Regions from separate parts of the Homo sapiens genome. Here all the other regions are linked to region 2. Evidence: promoter capture Hi-C in 16 types of primary human blood cells and fetal thymus (Javierre and others, 2016). All regions are on one chromosome and are shown on one strand. The core of a region is centred on a gene start or on the middle of the fragment in contact, and the rest is flanking DNA. Distances in the headings are between cores, read along the strand shown. Region 1 overlaps NDUFS1 (NADH:ubiquinone oxidoreductase core subunit S1). Region 2 holds the start of FZD5 (frizzled class receptor 5). Region 3 overlaps FASTKD2 (FAST kinase domains 2).

The links. Contacts are between HindIII fragments. The CHiCAGO score rates a contact against its expected background, and 5 or more counts as called.
Region 1: a contact is called between a fragment that was not itself captured here and the fragment with the promoter of FZD5 in region 2, in 1 of 17 cell types (neutrophils). The highest score is 6.5, in neutrophils.
Region 3: a contact is called between a fragment that was not itself captured here and the fragment with the promoter of FZD5 in region 2, in 1 of 17 cell types (naive B cells). The highest score is 5.9, in naive B cells.

Annotation. Positions count from the first base shown.
Region 1 is chr2:206,145,323-206,149,526 of GRCh38, forward strand. NDUFS1 (NADH:ubiquinone oxidoreductase core subunit S1) reads right to left here. Exons shown (of 19, transcript NM_005006.7): 5 at 3,698-3,774; 6 at 2,431-2,512; 7 at 2,209-2,339; 8 at 1,581-1,766. Among named protein-coding and RNA genes, the nearest start is that of NDUFS1, 12 kb to the right of the region's middle. The HindIII fragment of the contact is 5,047 bases long and covers 357-4,204 here.
Region 2 is chr2:207,768,656-207,772,993 of GRCh38, forward strand. It overlaps FZD5 (frizzled class receptor 5), which reads right to left and starts at 1,251. Exons shown (of 2, transcript NM_003468.4): 1 at 610-1,251; 2 at 1-339. The coding sequence starts at 84. RefSeq lists silencers at 2-61, 472-531, 872-1,551, 3,608-4,083 and enhancers at 2,102-2,151, 2,316-3,136. The HindIII fragment of the contact is 9,976 bases long and covers 1-4,338 here.
Region 3 is chr2:206,767,151-206,771,477 of GRCh38, forward strand. It overlaps FASTKD2 (FAST kinase domains 2), which reads left to right. Exons shown (of 12, transcript NM_001136193.2): 2 at 1-320; 3 at 2,941-3,044; 4 at 4,032-4,140. Among named protein-coding and RNA genes, the nearest start is that of FASTKD2, 3.7 kb to the left of the region's middle. RefSeq lists an enhancer at 2,549-3,748. The HindIII fragment of the contact is 2,931 bases long and covers 265-3,195 here.

The DNA.
Region 1 (4,204 bases), core at 1,630-4,129, 1.6 Mb before region 2:
ATTATGCTGACCAGGCTGGTCTTGAACTACTGGTCTCAAGCAATCCTCCCACCTTGGCCTCCTAAAAGCTGGGATTATAGGTGTGAGCCACTGCTCCCGGCACACCCACATTTGAACACATAAATTCCTGGCACAGTAAGGAAGGCTTTAAAACTATTATCTGACACAGAAGCTAGTTTGAAGGGGCTCCAACTAGCCAAATCTGGGACGATTCAACAAGAGGGGCAGGATTTCTGTCTATGGGAGATTAAGGAGCTCAAAAAACCTTCCCACTGAAAAGCAAAAGTAAAGCTGGCCAAAAATGACAAAACCCACCATTTCAGCAGTTTAGAAATCTAAACACATACAATGTGGGAAGCTTTTATGCACTGAAAAACTGGTGGCTGGGCTCAGTGCTCCTCCTATGCTCCTCTCCACCCCCTCAAAATGGAATTTCTTCGAGGCCGGGGCAGGCTGTGAAGATGAGAACTTCTTTGGTACAGATGGAGACAACTCACTTAACTTGGAGCACGAGGCAAACTTGTTTGTGGAGGTGATACTTTGGAGGTCATCGTAGCTGAGGATAGCCAAGATTTTACCAGCCTAAGTTTGTAGTGGTAATTGCGGCAAGCATTCCTAACAGAGGCTGCTACATGTGCAGGTGAAACCAGAGAAAGCTCAACCTATTCATAAACTCCTGGATAACTCTGAGACCCAAAGGGCCCAGTGCAAAGTAATAGCTGGGCAAACTTGAAAACAGCCTCAACTTTGAATATGCTCCTCCATCCACAAACAGATCCATTGGCAAAGAACATAACTCTTATTAGGTCACGGTGTTTGAAGTACAATTATACCTGACTACTAAACTATGCAGACACAGGGGAACTCCTAAGAAGCCTCACTTAAAAATAAAACCAAGAATATTAAAATATGTTGAAAGAACCAAAGAAAATCATATTTAAAAATTGAAGGGGATGTATGACAACCACGAATCAGCAAGTAGAGATTCTCAGTAAGGACACAGAAATTACACAGAAACAAAAAGCCAAATCCCAAGTTGAAAAGTATAAAGTTTAAAATTGGATGATAATTTGTTATGTTTTAAGAACCTTAAAAATAATCACACCTCTTGCATCTATCTACTCCATTTCTTGGTTTAATCAGGAGAATGAGAGATATACACAGAAATGTGTAAACAGCAATATTTTTTACAGATTTGTAATCATAAAGAAATATACAAGCTAAATGTCTATTAGCAGAAACTGGCTAAATGACATTCCTCATAGTTGAAAACTTAATAAACAACAACATGGGAGACTATACATTTAAAATGTCAACACTATTAAACTCTTTGGAAGAACACATGAAAAAAATAATTTTGTGGTTGAGTACTTTAGAATTAATTTCCAAGAAAACTACAGTTAATTTGCACAGGTTCAATCCATTCTAACTACTTACCTTCTATTTAAAGGGTTTTACATAAACAAACAAAGTCAACAGACCAAAACAACTGAAACCCAGGAAGAAAATGAACCTTAATATTTTTTTGAATAGTAATGAATTAAGGACAAAAAAACAAATTGTCATAAAATAAAAGATACCTTGTTTCCCAAGGCCGGGCAGTAAAGGCATAGGGCTTAGAGGTTAGGGCACCTACAGGGCAGATATCAATGATATTCCCAGACAGTTCAGACATGAACATCTTTTCAATGTATGTGCCAACTTGCATATCATTTCCTCTGCCTGTTGTTCCCAAATCATCTACTCCTGCAATCTCACTTGCAAACCTACAAGATAAAAAATGTGTCATCAATGGTCAAGTCCAGCAAAATTATTTCCTTTCTTATTCATGATCACAAAGAGATGATTTTCCAAACACTAAAAAGAAATGAGTATATTTTTAAAGGTGAGCACAGTCCTAGAATAAAAAATAATGAAATGTTTGCATTTAATTGAGGTGTAACACACAGGCAGAAACTTGTACAAATCATATGTGTACAACTCACCAAGTTATGAGTGAAAGCAAATGCTTATAGATTTTAATTTTTAAATCCACCTGAAGTTGGTACTAAATGAAAGTGAACTTATTTTATTCATATATCAGAAACAGCATCCCTCTTCTCCCACCCAAAAAAAGTAGCCATTCTTTCCAATGTTATTATTCATCAAATTGTGACTATTAAGTATACAATTATATTCTATAATAGAAAAAAAAGGAAAAAAAGTTACCTGATGCAGCGAGTACACTGTATACATCTTGTCATGATGGTCTTTACCAATGGCCCAATGTTCTTGTCTTCCACAGCACGCTTCCCCTCTAAAAATCGGCTCCTATCATTTCCAAACATCATGGACTGGTCCTTAAGTAGATTATGAAAGAGTCAATCTCATGCTGCTAATAAAATTAAAATCTGAGACAACCAAAAAGATTGACAGAATTCTACTACATACCTGCAGATCACATTCACCTCCCTGGTCACAAATAGGACAGTCCAATGGGTGATTTGCTAATAAGAACTCCATCACACCTTCCCTGTATGAAAATTGTAACATATAAAATGACTCTCAAATACACACACACTGACATTAACTGCTGGCACTCAAAATGACCTATAGACTTTATTTTTTTTTTTTGAGATGGTGTCTCGCTCTGTTGCTCAGGCTGCAGTGCAGTGGCACAATCTTGGCTCACTGCAGCCTCCTGCCTCCACCTCTCAGGTTCAAGCGATTCTCTTGCCTCAGCCTCCCGAGTATCTAGGATTACAGATGCCCACCACCACACCTGGCTAATTTTTGTATTTTTAGTAGAGGCAGGGTTTCATCATGTTGGTCAGGCTGGTCTCGAACTCCTGACCTCAAGTGATCCTCCCGCCCTGGCGTCCCAAAGTGCTAGAATTACAGGCGTGAGCCACTGTGCCAGGCCCACATATAGGCCATTTAAACAACCTTCATAGATGTATATTTGTTATACAATTAATAGTAATTTTACATTTAATATCAGAAATGCCAATTATCTATCATTGTGGTAATATTTTTTTTAAGAGACGGGGTCTTGCTATGTTGCCCAGGCTGGACTCGAGCTCCTGGGCTCAAGTGATCCTCCCGAGTATCATTCTGGTAGTATTAAACACACAATCTGGAAAATGCTTAGAGGAGCCTAGAATAAAGTATCATTAGAGAACATAGAAAATTATGATTTTTGGTCAGGTTTGGTGGCTCACGTCTGTAATCCCAGAACTATGGGAGGGAGGCTGAGGCAGGATGATCACCTGAGGCCAGGAGTTCAAGCCCAGCCTGGACAACATAGTGAGACCTCGTTTCAAAAAATAAAGAAAATTGTAACTTTTAACAATACCGAATGATCAAAAGTTGCTGAATGGTCCTCAGAAAATATTCACATTAATTCAAAATAAAAACAAACACAATCAATCCCAGTATAGTATAGTAGTAGCTTAGTAAGTCCAGATTCACCCTTCTTCACAAGTTGAGCAAGTTACTAAAGAAGGATTTTTAATGCTGATCCTAAAGCTCAATACCATAAACTCCTGACTTCACCTTCTCTACTATGTAGTACTCACTTCTATTGCTCCTAGAAGCTGAGCACACCAACTTCTTCCGAGTTTGATATTAAATTCTTAATCTATGGGAAGGTCTAAATACCAAAATGTGCAATTTTCTGCTTTATGAAAGGGTACTACATTGAATAACAATAAAGTACCTGGCTTTTTTGGATTTTTCTGAGTTTGTTAGGATATTCCAACCCTTCATTACTGGCATGGCACAAGCAGCTACAACCTGGGATTTCAATGAAAAAAAAAAATGTGTATTTGTATTTATTTGTGATTACAAGCAACTCAATATATAAAAATGTTAAATTATATAAAAACATTAAATTATACATTTGATAACAGGCAAAGAATAGGGTATTTTTTAAAACTGAATTTTGTTAAGTTTTCATATTCATAATACGATGATCTAGTACTTTGCATTTATCTCAGAAATAAAACATCCTGGTTTTTAGGTTTATTCTAATAGTCAATGCAATTTTTTATTCTGCTCTGAAACAGAACACCAAATAACTGCTTTGATTAGCAGGCACTATTGAATAAAAAAATTGCATACACCAAAATGAAATTAAACTACTGAAAGTGAACTTCTTCCCTGCAACCCTTTTCTCTACTAAAAATGGCAGGGCGTCAGCACTTTTAATGTGCTACTTGGCAAC
Region 2 (4,338 bases), core at 1-2,500:
GGACGCGGCGGCCGCCCGGCCCACCAGCTGCGCTAGGAGCAGCAGCAACAGCGAGGGCGGCGCGGATGGGTCAGGCCGAGCCATCGCCCCCTCCCTCCCCTCGCCTCCAGCAGCCCGCGAGGGACGCACACAGGCAGAGGAATCCGGGCCGGGGCTTCTCCCTCCGGCGTCTCGTGTGTGGCGCCGGGGCTGGCAACCTGTTGGTTGCTTTTTCCTTTAAAGAAAACCGTCCAAAGATAAACTGCTTCGGGAAGGCGCTGCCTCCGCTGGCAGCGCTCCGCTCCTCGCCGGATAGGGCTGGGGAGAGACGGTTAGGGCTCGGATTCCAGGGAAAGGACTCTTTAAAAAAGAAGGGGGAGAAGAAAGATTGCAACCACTCCCTGTTGGAGAGGCGTCAACAGTTCGGTCCCCGCGAGCTGTCTCCAAATCTCTTAAGTTAACCCCTTTCCTTTCCTCCCCGCTCCGCCTCCTGTAACCAAACTACCGACTCCCCCACCCTCTCTTTCCAAGCTGGGCCCTTCAGGCAGTGCCCGGAGACCAGAACCCTCAGCTTCCCGGAAAAGGGCACAGGAAACGGGAGAAGAACAGGGAGAAAGGGAAGGTTCTCACCTCCACGGATCCCGCCGAGAAGAGCAGACAGTCCCCAGCCAGCCTGGGTCCTCCGTCCCTGGGTCACTCCGCTGAGAAGCGCGACTCAGAGCCGGGCTGGCGCCCGGAAAGTTTAGCGACAGGCTGGGTACCCGTGGCAGCGGCACATGGCAGCAGGTGGGGGCGACTCAGAGTGGGGGGCGCCCCCAGAACAGGGGCGGCGCAGGCCGGTCACTCGCCCTCTCCTCCTCGGGAGCCCCCCGCATGATCCAGACGGAGCCGGGCAGGGGCAGGCCGTGCGTTCTCCCCGGGGCCGGGAGCCGGACGGAGGGCGAGCGCGCCTGGCAGCACCTGGGCGGGAGGAAGGCGGGAGGCGGGGGCCGTGGGACCCCGCCGCCTCACAGCACCGCGAGCAGCCGGCGCTGGCCAGGCCGGGACTGCATGGTGAGCGCCGGCCGCCGCGTCCCGCCCGCCGCTCGCCTCCTCCCCTGCAGGGGGCTCCGCGCTCCAGTGGACTCCTGGGGGCGGTGGCGACGCTCTCGGGACGTGCCCTGCTCGGCTCCTCCCCCGCGCTCTCGCACCCTTTCGCCCACCTCTGGCGAGCACGGAACCGCGCGCGGCGGCGACCACAGCGGACTCACGGCCGCAGGCTGGCTGCCCTCTCCCGCCCCGCCCGGGTCACCTGCTTCTAATGCCCGCCGGGAAGCCCCGCCCCGGCTCCGCCCCCTCAGGCCCGGGCGCGGTTGGTGGGCCGCCTCGCCAAGCTCTCCGCGCGTCCCCGCCCACTGCCCCGCGGGCTCGGCCTTTCCCCCGGCGCCCTCTGGCCCCGCCAGGAGCGGGCAGCCAAGGAGCGCTGACCAATCGCGGGCCTGGAGGAGATGGGGGCGGGGCGAATGCTAATCATGCCGCTCTGGGCACCCGGGCGGGAAGCCCTTGCCAGAAGTCCCTCCGGAGTTCTCTGCCCGCGCCCTGGGTGCAGGACTCGCTCCTGTAACTTCCTGGCTTATGCACCTTTGCTCCCAGGGCCCCTGCCCTTTCTGCCTGCAGCTAAGCGTCCTTACAGAGTTCAGTGCTTCTTTGAAAGAACTGCTCAAGGAATCACTCTTAGGCGTGGCTGTCTCCCTTCCGAGCTGTCTTGGAACTGTGTGAAAGAAGAGAGGATACTTACTGAGCCCTTTACTGTGTGCCCAACAAAGTGTTAATCGGTTACATCCTTTTTTTTTTTTTTTTTTTTTGAGACGAGTTGTTCTGTCTCCCAGGCTGGAGTGCAGTGGCGCGATCTCGGCTCACTGCAACCTCTGTCTCCCGGGTTCAAGCGATTATCCTGCCTCAGCCTCCTGCGTAGCTGGGATTACTGGCGCCCGCCACCACGCCCAGCTAATTTTTGTATTTTTGGTAGAGACGGGCTTTCACCATGTAAGGCTGTTCTCGAACTCCTGACACCGTGATCTGCCCGCCTCGGCCTCCCAAAATGCTGGGATTACAGGTGTGAGCCACCGCGCCCGGCCCGTTTACATCTTAAGACAAGATCTCACTCCTTACAACAATTCTGAGGCAGGTACTTCCTACAGGTGAAGAAACCGAGACTGAGACTTGGCCAAGGCAACCGAGCTAATCATAGTTCCCCCAAGAAAGGGCGACCTCGGCAAGCAAGTTCACCTCCGTATTCCGATCACCTGGCACATAGTAGCCGCCCAAATGGCAACCCTGGGATTCGAACCCAGGTAGTTGGTCAGCGGCACTCACCATCGTAGCCGCCCCTCCCCCCATACTATCGCAGCCTCCCTGGCTTCGACCTTTACTTTTGCATCTCTTAACAAAATCTTGTTGTGACAAGAAAATGGATTTCTTTCTGCCTTTAGAAGACCCAGAAAGATGTGAGTCCTTTATTGGTCGAGGTTTATAATCCCAGGCAGTTCCGAAGTCGCCCGCAGAGAGAAGCGATACCGACCCAGGGTTCTGTGCTGGGCAGGGCGCCGGCCTCCCCGTGCCCTTCCGTCCCCGGCTGCCTGCTGCTAAGCCGCGCACTTGCGCGCCGCGGGGGGTCGGAGGGCGCACCGATGGCGGGGACACGGCGGCGCTCTTCAGTTGCGCAATTATGCTACAAGTTTTAAATGTCCTAAAAATGCCTCTTTTCTATGTGTTGTAATTAGATTGGAAGACTGAGGTATTTAGCATACTTGAAATACATTCACACGCCTAGGAAGAGGGTTTAAATTTTTTCCTTCTCCCCAAACTTTTCCTTCCACTGGGCAAAGGGCGAAAATAGGCAAGAGGGCCTGGGGACACTTGAAGGGATAGGGACTGGACTAACTGGACTAGATCCAGATCAACCGCGGGTTACTGTCCATCTCCTGTGCTGGATCCCATTGGCACAGGTTGGAAGAATAAATTGCGGAAGTGCCACTCCCCTCCTGCGTATCAACAACGCTTTGTGGGCAATAATGAAGAACACGTGTGTTAATCCCAGCCTCCAAGTTAAAAAGGAACAAATATCAATCACTTCGCGGATATCAAAACTATTAATAAACGTTTAAAAGGCCGGGCGCCATAGCTCACGCCTGTAATCCTAACACTTTGGGAGGCTGAGGTGGGAGGATGGCTTGAACCCAGGAGTTTGCAGACCAGCCTGAGCAACATAGCAAGACCCCCAACTCTAAAATACATAATTAAATAAATGAATAAATATACCTTACATCTTTCTTTCTCTGGAATTCTACAGGTGTTCATATTTTATCTCTTGTGTTTTGGAATTACTTGCCACTCTGGGTCAGGAAGCATCCCAGGGTTGAAAATAGTGGGAGTTGAAAAGCTGTGGGCATAGCAGTGAGCAAGAAAGGGAAGCCCTCAGTGGAAAGTATGTGCAGACTATGAACATGCCAAGGGAGGCCCATCTCATTCTGTGCTCTTTATGCAACGTGTGTATTACTGGGGATGGACAAGTGTTGGCTAATAATAAAAATTATTTGAAGTTGGAGAATGTTAATCACTCACACTGGAATTTAGCCAGAATATTTGTGTTATTTCACACGGTTCTGTCAGAGGCATTTGAACCAGAGCGACTCCATCTTGGATAGGGACTGGGTAAAATAAGGCTGAGACCTACTGGGCTGCATTCCCAGGAGGTGAAGACATTCTAAGTCAACAGGGTGAGATAGGAGGTCAGCACAAGATACAGGCCATAAAGACCTTGCTGATAAAACAGGGCGCAGTAAAGAAGCCGGCAAAAACCCAGCAAAACCAAGATGGCCAGGAGAGTGACCTCTGGTCGTCCTCACTGCTTATTGTAACTTAATTATAATACATTAGCATGCTAAAAGACACTCCCACCAATGCCAAAGCAGTTTACATTTTACAGATGCCATGGCAACCGTCAGGAAGTTACCCTGTATGGTCTAAGAGGGGGAGGAACCCTCAGTTCCGGGAATTGCCCGCCCCTTTCCCGGAAACTCATGAATAATCCACCCTTTGTTTAGCATATGATCAAGAAATAACCATAAAAATGGGCAACCGGCGGCCCATGCCGCTGCTCTGTCTATGGAGTAGCCATTCTTTATTCCTTTCCTTCTTTTTTTTTTTTTTTTTTTTTTTTTTTGACAGTCTTGCTCTGACGCCCAGGCTGGAGTGCAGTGGGGGTGCAAGCTCGTCTCACTGCAACCTCTGCCTCCTAGGTTCAAGCAATTCTTGTGCCTCAGCCTCCCAGGAAGCTGGGATTACAGGCCTACGCCACAACACCCTGCTATTTTTTGC
Region 3 (4,327 bases), core at 480-2,979, 1.0 Mb before region 2:
GTATCAGCAGTAGAAAACTGTCTGAGGAATGTAATTCCCTGAGTGATGTGTTAGATGCATTTTCAAAAGCGCCCACATTTCCTAGTAGCAACTATTTCACAGCAATGTGGACAATTGCCAAAAGACTGTCTGATGACCAGAAGCGCTTTGAAAAACGACTGATGTTTAGCCACCCTGCATTTAATCAGCTCTGTGAACATATGATGAGAGAAGCCAAGATCATGCAGTATAAGTACCTACTGTTCAGTCTTCACGCCATAGTGAAGCTTGGAATCCCTCAGAACACTATTTTGGTGCAGACTTTGCTGAGGGTGACCCAGGTAAAATAAAAAGGAGATTTAAACATGCATTTACTTGATTTAGAATATTTTGAAAGAATGAAGGGATATAGATATGTAGCCTTCTTAAAAGAGACTATCAAATGGAATGGTAGTTTCCTTTATATTTATTTCTGCATATATATTATATGATTTAGAGGCCTTAAGTTAGCTATTTTCTTCCTTTTGCTATGGAAATTTATGAAAGCCTTCCACATTTACCATCCCCAGGGTTGAGTAGTGGTGAAGAAGCTAAAGTGAGGAGAGATGCAAGATATACAAAGAAAGCCTGGGTAGTTGAAGAAGGAGAGAAGGGAAGGGGAAGGAAGAGAATTTAGTCCATGGTAGAATTGGAATTCAGGCCCAGTAGATGATACCTAAACTGATGAGCAGAATGATAGTGAAGGGGATGGTGTTTCAAGTAGAGAGGATTGCATGCCCTACTGTTCCCAGAGGAAAAGTTTGGCAAATTTGAAGAGCTGAAAGTAGTTTGGTGTAGCTGAAGCACAGAATGATGGAGTTGTATGTTTGAGTGGGTGGGAACAAGTTTTGTACATGGCGATCAAAGGAGAGGAGTGAGGGGCAAGAGGCTTAGGGGCAGAACAAGAGGCCAGAAAAATAGGAACCAAATCATAAAGAGCCTCTTACGGCTAGCTAAGGAGTATGCATTTATCCTGTAGGCAATGGGAATCCGTTGAAGAATTTTAAGCAATGGGTTGACGTGCTCAAATTTGTATTTTAGATCACTGAATGAGTGGAAGATGTATTGGAAGAAGGTTAAAATTGGATGGAGGGAGCCATTTTTAGTCTAAAGCAAGAATGTCAGTGTCCTGTTTAATGTCACTGAAATGGTGCCAAATGTAAGGAAGGAAGGATTAGCTTGTTAATCATTTATGTTTTAAGAGTGTACACTTCTGACGTATAAACTCAGTGATAATGAAGTAATTTCTTAGCCAGGTGTGGTGGCTCACACCTGTAATCCCAGCACTTTGGGAGGCCAAGGCAGGAGGATCTCTTGAGCCCAGGAGTTTGCGACCAGCCTGGGCAACAAAGGGAGACTCCATCTCTACAAAAAATACAAAAATTAGCTGGGTGTGATGTACTTGCCTGTGGTCCCAGCTACTTGGGAGGCTGAGGTGGGAATATCACTTGAGCCTGGGAGGTCGAAGCTGCCGTGAGCCATGATCGTGCCACTGCACTCCAGCCTGGGTGACAGAGCCAGACCCTGTCTGAAAATAATAATAATAATTTTTTAAAAGACAGGAATTCCTTGGGGATAATCTGGCATATATCCTGTCTTGCTATAGAATTCAATAATTGGGTTCATAGCTATGGGAAAGTTTTTAACTTTTTACATTACTGTGATTTCCATATGTCCTTAAGGAATAACTAATTTTTATTTAGTGTATGTGTGTGTATTTGTTTAAACCACAGAATATCCCTGTTTATTTGTAGGCTGTGTATTAGTTCCTATGTAGTTATTTAAAAGTGACTAATAAATCACCTTACCTGGTCAGTGATGCTCTTACTAGATTTTGGACAGATATTTGCATCGGGATGACATCTGTGTTGGTGAGGTATGAGTAGTAGATTTTTGTAGTCAAAACATCTGTATGGATGATGGTGTCTCACTGACCTGTTGGAATAATGTAAAGACATTTTAGAGGTGAAAGGACAGTGTGCCATCAATGAATTTGCCCTTCAAACACATAGACAAGTGGTCTTTTCTTTCATAGTAGATATGGATGGAATGCTGTAAAATTGTTAAGGAAACCCTTTCATAGGAAAGAAACCTTTTTTTTCTTCTAACCATAACCATTTCTTATTATTACCTGGTTCTGACTTAAGACTTTGTGATTCATTGGTTATGTAATTTTAGCAAAAGAGCTTCTCTCTCTTCAGGCTAAGTTTCCTCAGATGTGATTTTTTGTGAGGTTTATAGACTAGTGATTAAACTGTAGAGTACTGCTAGTTAAGCTGTGTTGTTACTATTCACTTTCCAGATTATGCCCACTATTTCTGGAATCAAACTTAGTACCCTAAGTAAAGGGACCTGAAAGAAGAATCTGTGGGGTGTAGGCTTCCCTTGAGACCCAGATAGCAGTGGTAGAATGTGGCAGGAGATGTGAATCAGAAGACTCACAAGTAAAGTTTCAGCTTGATACCCAGGAAAGGATCTAGGGAAATTGTAAAGGCACAACCATTTAAGGATCTTTAGAGATGGGCTAGTTACCTTCTGTACTTCAGTAGTTCTTATATTCCTGCACTTTAACTGTTTTTGCCTTTGTAATGACCTTGAATTCCAAGAAGAGGTAAAAATAATGTTTAATAAAAGTTGTTTCAGAAGCAGTGGAATATAATAAATATCAAATGTGTTTTCAGTGATAATGGTGAAGGTAAAAAAGTGTTGATGCATAAAAGGATGTGTATCAGTCAGCTGGAAAATTCAGTAAGTATGACTTTTTATTTCCCAAAGATGCTGTTTATTGTGGACTGACTGTAGGAATTGTTGGTTTGATACTCAATCGTTTTATTCAGTACATCAGTTCAGTGGTTTTGCTTGGGTAAGATAGTTTACTATGGGCTCATCACCTGTAGTGTTTTTGTAATTATATTTCAATAGGAACGTATCAATGAGTGTGATGAGATATGCCTTTCAGTTTTGTCAACTGTTTTAGAGGCAATGGAACCATGCAAGAATGTTCATGTTCTACGAACGGGATTCAGGTGAGAACTCTCTTATGCTTTCTTCATGTGGTTTTCTTTGTTCCTCATATATCTGGAATAAAAAAATTGAGATGAAAACTAAACTCCTTTCTTGAGGGGAGGAGGGGTTGGGGAGGCTTTGTTGGTAGTTACAGTCTTTCATACCTTATTAAGCTTAAAATCCTGACTCTGGATGACATAGGCTGGAAATACTTCTCTTAGGGTCCATAATAACAAAGATGTGAGTAACATTGAAATCTAAATTAATTTATTTTAAAACATAGTACTGGCCAGGCGCAGTGACTCATGCCTGTAATCCCAGCACTTTGGGAGGCCGAGGCAGGCGGATCACGAGGTCGGGAGATCGAGACCATGGTGAAAGCCCGTCTCTACTAAAAATACAAAAATTAGCCGGGTGTGGTGGTGGGTGCCTGTAGTCCCAGCTGCTTGGGAGGCTGAGGCAGGAGAATGGCGTGAACCCAGGAGGCAGAGCTTGCAGTGAGCTGAGATCGCGCCACTGCACTCCAGCCTGGGCAACAGAGCGAGACTCTGTCTCAAAAAAAAAAAAAAAAAATAGTACTGATGCGGGGTAGGAGAGAATTGATATGTATATTTAATTCAGAATAGTTATTCGGGGACTATGTGAGGGTTGACGTTGACCCAGCTTGAAAAGGGATTTATAAAATTGATATAAATGATCTAATGTCATAGATTAGTGAGAGTAAAACTTAACTCCCTTTGACATTGACTATGCATAGGATATGTTACTATAATCTCCTGACATAATTTGTTCTTTAGTAAAGACAGCACAATAATGTGAGAGAAAATAGCACTATTAATAGATTGGGTCTCGATCTTTAACTACTTACACTCTCTCAAGCAGGTAGATCATTTCTCTGGGCTTCATAATCCTTGCCTGTAAGAAGGGGCTGGACCAAATGAAATTTTAAGATTTTTCTTCTGCTTTGAAGATTCTATGATTTTAATATTTATTGTGTTTGATAACAGAATACTAGTTGATCAGCAAGTTTGGAAAATAGAAGATGTCTTCACATTACAAGTTGTGATGAAGTGTATTGGAAAAGATGCACCGATTGCTCTTAAGAGGAAACTGGAGGTAAACACATGAATTTTCTCTAGTGGATGAGATTTGAAAAAATCTTTCTTATAACCTGCTATCACTGCCTGAAGTCAATTTTCTAGGAGGACATTGCTGGGCTTTTAGGTTTAGCTTCACTAAAGTGAATGAATAGAAGTACCCTTATATTTATTTATCTGTATATATATACATGTATATTTATTTA